Regions from separate parts of the Homo sapiens genome. Here region 1 is linked to region 2. Evidence: promoter capture Hi-C in 16 types of primary human blood cells and fetal thymus (Javierre and others, 2016). All regions are on one chromosome and are shown on one strand. The core of a region is centred on a gene start or on the middle of the fragment in contact, and the rest is flanking DNA. Distances in the headings are between cores, read along the strand shown.

Region 1 (2,783 bases), core at 9-2,508, 130 kb after region 2:
CCTGCCCTTAGACCATTGCCTTCTCACTGTGTCCTCACAGCAGGGAGGGTGAGAGCAAGCTCTCTGGTGTATCTTTGTATGAGGGTGTCAGTCCCATCTTGAGAGCCCCACCTGGTGACCTCACGGAACCTAATTATCTCCTAAAGGCCTCCCTCCAAATACCACTAAATGGAACTTAGGATTTCAACATAGGAATCTGGGGTGGACACGACACAATTCAGTCCCTAGCACCCTGCCTGTCTTTGAGCCCTTCCACCAACTAAGGATGGCATGAGGCCTCCATGCAGAGCACGTGCTCTGCAACGGGAACACAGTAAGGACTCAGCGACGGGCTGAGAAGAGCTGACGTCGCTGCACATTCCAAGGTCTTCAAGCTCCCAAGGTAGCAATTCTCCTCCCAGCAGCGGAGGCCCAGCTGGTCTCCCACCAAAGTCTCAGAAAGGTGACTTTAACACACAGCCCCGAGAGATGGCTGTCAGGCCCACGCCAGGCTCAGAAGAGTATCCTCCTGGCTGTTACATAGGATGAAGGCTCAAGTGAAAACTGAAAACCTCCATCTGCTCAACACTAGCAACCATGGCAGCTCTCCCAGTTAAGGACAGAGATGGCCAGCATTATGAGGATGCACCTTCCTCATCACCAGTGCTAAGGGCCCTAGCCCCGACTCCTCCCCTTCCTGGAGCCCAATGCAGACCCTCCAGGCAGCCAGAGAACCTCTTGAGCCAGGGAGGCCTGGCCACATCAGGGCAGTCCCTGACCACAAAGGTCCAGGCATAAAGTCCAGTTTCCATCACTGAGCAGCTCTGGAACCTTGGGCAAGTGCCTGCTGCATGTGCACTGCAGGTAAAAGTGTTGACTCCAAGACAGAGAACAGTCATGACTGCCACCACTGCCCTAGGACAGTGACTAATACCAGATGCCTCCAAGGGGCCTAGAGAGAAAAACAATCAACTGCAGGAAACCAAAGGCCCACCACAGCAAGGCCCTAGTCCGCACCTACGCGCACCACAAGACAGACAGCGCACCTATGCTATATTTGTTGTCAATAATATAATCCTGGGAAAACAAGTACCAGAACAAAGAGTCAAAGGCAGACGAGCAGGGCATACTCTGGGTCCTGGGTCAAAGGAAGACAAGCAGGGCATACTCTGGGCTGAGACTGTTGAAGGAAAAATAGCTGAAGGCAAGCTAGATAAAAAGCATTGTCAAACAAGCAGAAAACAGCACCAAAAAGCAGCAGGGAGGAAACTGGGGCAGTGAACAAAGCTCAAGTCCAAACAAGACGCACAGAAGAAGTAAGAGCCAACAAACTGCCTTTAGGGTTCCAGCAGCCACAGGAGAGTGGCAGTAGCTGGCTTCATCCGTACACTCAAAGCTCAAAGCCTAATGCAGCAGGTAGTTTCCTACCAACCCCCAGTTCACAAGTAAAAAGCAGAGGTCTCAGTAATTACATGACTAGCGCAACGTCATGGGCTAGTAAGTATCCGTTCTAGAACTTGAACCCAGGTTTGGCTGAGAGCAAAGCCCATGTTCTCAGTCTCCATATGATAACCAGATTCTGACTGAGTCAATGAAGAAAAAAAGGAGTTATCAAAGGAAATCCAAAAGGAATGACCAAGATTGAGGGTGATGACAGGAAGGCACTACCCAGGACCGAACTAGTCCAGGAAGGGCATCACAGCAAAGAGCTGAGAAAGGGTCAGAGCAGAGTTCCACAGGCTTAGAGATGGTGGGATCATGAGGAGAGAGAAGTCAAGTCTTCAAAGTGGAGCAGTCAACAGGATGATGAGTGACAGTCAAATTCTTGAAGAGCTCCTAAAGGTCTGACTGTCCACAGTAGCCCAGAGAGAGGACACTGGGCATCAGTCAGTTCATTCAGCAACAAATGTAGCTAATAATGGGACAAACCTAGTCATGCCCCAAGGAACCTGACGTCTAGCAGAGAAAACAGATACTGACAGACTCTACACAGTGCCAAACCTGAGAGAGACTGGTGTGAGCAGCAACAGTGGGCAGAAGCACAGGTCAGCTCCCTGGCTCACACCCAATAGGTGTCCTATCTGTGAGCTCTGACAGTGTAGCTAACTGCCAGCTTCTCTGTGGCTCCTCGGTAAACAGGGATAAAAATACAGATCTCCTGGGCCAGGAATGGTGCCTCACACCTATAATCCCCATGCTTTGGGAGGTCCAGGCAGGAGGATTGCTTGAAGCCAGGAGTTCAAGACCAGCCTGAGCAACACAGAGAGACCCCATCTCTAAAAACCTTTTTTTAAATTAGCCAGGTGTGGTGGCATGTACTTGCAGTCCTAGCAACTCAGGAAACTGAGGCAGGAGGGTCTCTTATGCCTGAGAGTTCAAGACTGCAGTGAGTCATGATCATGTGTTCATACCACTTGCACTTCCAAGTGGGCAGCAGAGGAGACCCTGTCTCTCTTAAAAAAAAAAAAAAAAAAGGCTGAGCATGGTGGCTCACGCCTATAATCCCAGCACTTTGGGAGGCCAAGGCAGGCAGATCATGAGGTCAAGAGATCAAGACCATCCTGGCCAACACGGTGAAGCCCCATCTCTACTAAAAATACAAAAATCAGCCAGGCGTGGTGGCACGCACCTGTAGTCCCAGCTACTTGGGAGGCTGAGGCAGGAGAATCGCTTGAACCCAGGAGATGGAGGTTGCAGTGAGCCGACATTGTGCCATTGCATTCCAGCCTCCATGACAGAGCAAGAGTCCATCTCAAAAAAAAAAAAAAGTGCTGAAAGGGAAAAAAAAAGCTGTTAACCTAGAA
Region 2 (2,700 bases), core at 166-2,665:
TGGGAGGGGGATGGACAGGGCAGGTTGGGGACTGCAGGGGCCAAGGCAGAGGATGAGCAGGTTTGCGGGGCTGAGAGCCAGGAAGGGTCCAGGGCCTGCTCCCCAACCCAGGCAGGGCTGCTGGAGGAGGCCTGGGCCCACTACTGTCCCCTCCCACCCTACAGGCTGCTGCATTCTGCCCCTTGGAGGCAGCACCTGCCCCCCTGCAGCACAGCCAGGGCTCACCCTTGTCTGGGTGGGCCTTCCGGATGCCCTCCGCTGTCTGGAAGGCATGGAAGGAGTTGGGGAAATCTACGTCCGGGTCCGACTCATCCACCAGCCCATCCAGCAGGTCCACGGCCTCCATGACTGTCATTTTCTTGTAGGAGAAGCCCCCAAACTGGGCATGCTGGCGGGGAAGGAGAAGGCAGTGTGGCCCAGGGTCAGCAGGCCCACCACACAGGCCTCTCCATCCCCTCGGCGCCTGGTGGGCTCATGGGGCTGAGGGCAAGGGTCCCTCCGCGTTTGCACGGGGCGGCAGGAAACGCCTACCTTGCTCCTGACGAAGTCCACTGTCTGGTGCGTGTGCATGAGCTTGTAGGTGGTGAAGACACGGTCCAGGAGGGGACCTGACTGCAGGCCGGAGGGTCAGTGGCGCCACCCCCACCCTGCACACGAGGCCCCATGCCTCCCCTCTCCCAGGCAGCCCCACAGGGTGTGATGGGGGTGGGAGTTCCCACAGGGCACCCCCTGGAACTGTGTGAAGGGCAAGTGCTGCTCCCCAGGGTGTGGATGGGGGAGAAGGGGGGCAGGACGGCAAGGTACTCACCGTGTAGTTCCGGAAGCTGGCCTTGTCTTTGGCCACCTCTGGGTCCACATCAGGTCGGTAGACCAGGGAAGGGTCTGGGCCCTGGGTAGGTGGAGGATTGAACCTATTTCACCATCATGTCAGCTCCACGAGGAAGCACAGACATTCCCAGGGTGGCTGCAGACTCCAAGCCTGCCTCTGCTCGAGGGCTGGTGGGTGACACGCGAGGACACAGCCTCTCCCACGCCATCATCCCAGCCCCTGCCCTGGCCTCAGCGAGTCCCAGGAGCTCTCACTCCCAGGTCCTCATCTGCAAAGCGAAAGTCAGCAGACGTCTGCTTCCGGGGTACAGGGGACACCACGCCTGAGCGGCACCCATGGCCACCCTTGAGGGGTGGAAGTGGCTTTGGGAGGAGACTGAGTCCACAGGGAGCCTGGGGGTCGGCAGCCGCTGGCTCTTGCCCAGCTGGACGGAGGAGGAGGGCTGGCCAGTGCCAGCTAGAAGAGGGCGGGAGTGGCTGGCCACCAGGAGAGCAGTCAGCAGAGCCTCTCTGCATGGGGTCTGGGTACTCACCACCGTCACCTTCATCCTGAGAGGGAGCGGCGCTCAGGTGGCAAAGCACAGGCTGGCGAGTGTGTCCTCAGCCAGGCTCCTATATACACCCCAGGTTACATAAGTGTCCGCAGTAATAAATGACCATCCACCCTCCTCCCGGCCTCAGGGAGTTAATGTGTCAGCACAGCAGCAGCCCCCAGCAGTCCCACATCCTCTGGCCCTGACTCAGCCTCACACTCCTGTCCCGAGCCGCTGACCTGCCTAGGGTTATCTGTGGGCCCAGCCTCCCACTTGGGCCCTGGCCTTAGACCCCTCTGTGGGGTCCCACAAGTAGGGGCAGACCCAAGACCCCACCCTCAAGCACACGCCCCCTCTGCACCACCCCTTCCCCGGCTGCCCCACTGGATCTCAGGAGGTGAAAACTTGTCCCCAGGCCCCCCGTGATTCTGGGTGGGGCAGGAGCTTGTTAAGAAAAGATGATTCTGAGGACTTGTTAAAATGGTGAGAAAAGCTTTATTCAAGAGAGTGGTGAGAGGAGCTCACCTCCGAGTTCAACAACCACAGCTGGAGATTGATGGCGTTGGAGGGGTCAGCGGATGGGAAGTTGTTAGGGCGGCCTTCGAGGGTAGGGGGATTCTCACTGGAGTGGCTCAATGAGGATCTTGCAGGAGGCCGGCAGGGTGATGAGATCAAGGGTGGGAGATGAGGAATGGGATCAGATATCGAGGGTGGGTAATTCTCCATAAACTGATTTAGAGGATTCTTGCTAACACCGGGGTCGGCGGGCCCAGCGAGGATGGGGATGGGGTCAGGCCTCGTCGAGGAAAGGACTCAGGGGCACCTGCCTAGAGTTCGGCCACAGAGTGTGTCAGGCTCTGGGAGAGGGGCCTCACGGAGAGTTGGAGCAGGCACGGAACCGCCAACACCCAGGCCGCCAACGCAACTTCCCATGCATGGGCCCTGCAGGCATGGAGGACACCGTGAGAACAAAGTGCCCGCGGCAGAGCTGGCGTCTTGGAGCGTGGCCAGGGAAGTCTGGGAACAGCAGTCGGCTGGGGCAGGAGAGAGGGCAGTGGGGTGCTGGGGCCATACCTAGGGCTGTGAAGATCAGAGTTCTGGGCTTCAGGGGTCAGGCAAGAGGGCTGTGGGCAGCTGACCTGACTCAACAAGATCCTGGCACAGCTGAGCTGAGAAGCAACTGTGAGGAGACCCCAGCGCCCCCCATTTAAACGGCACCTGCCCCACACTCTCCTTCCTTGTCTGACTTCCTGTGGCACTCAGCACTCCCTGCCACTCCACCACCCACTTATTCTACCTTCTACGTTTGTCTCCTTCTATCTCCCCCTAGAATGTCAGC

The links. The method cuts DNA at HindIII sites, captures the fragments that hold promoters and counts their contacts. A CHiCAGO score of 5 or more calls a contact.
Region 1: a fragment that was not itself captured here is called in contact with the fragment with the promoter of MIOX in region 2 in 12 of 17 cell types (total CD8 T cells, M1 macrophages, M0 macrophages and 9 more); the score reaches 8.3 in total CD8 T cells.

What each region holds. Positions count from the first base shown.
Region 1 is chr22:50,360,021-50,362,803 of GRCh38, reverse strand. The region is part of intron 1 of PPP6R2 (protein phosphatase 6 regulatory subunit 2); the gene reads right to left. Among named protein-coding and RNA genes, the nearest start is that of PPP6R2, 18 kb to the right of the region's middle. RefSeq lists an enhancer at 1,301-1,350. The HindIII fragment of the contact is 3,779 bases long and covers 1-2,783 here.
Region 2 is chr22:50,485,574-50,488,273 of GRCh38, reverse strand. It overlaps MIOX (myo-inositol oxygenase), which reads right to left and starts at 1,415. Exons shown (of 10, transcript NM_017584.6): 1 at 1,362-1,415; 2 at 809-889; 3 at 532-612; 4 at 226-388. The coding sequence starts at 1,376. It overlaps ADM2 (adrenomedullin 2), which reads right to left. Exons shown (of 3, transcript NM_001253845.2): 3 at 1,837-2,700. The HindIII fragment of the contact is 4,673 bases long and covers 1-1,856 here.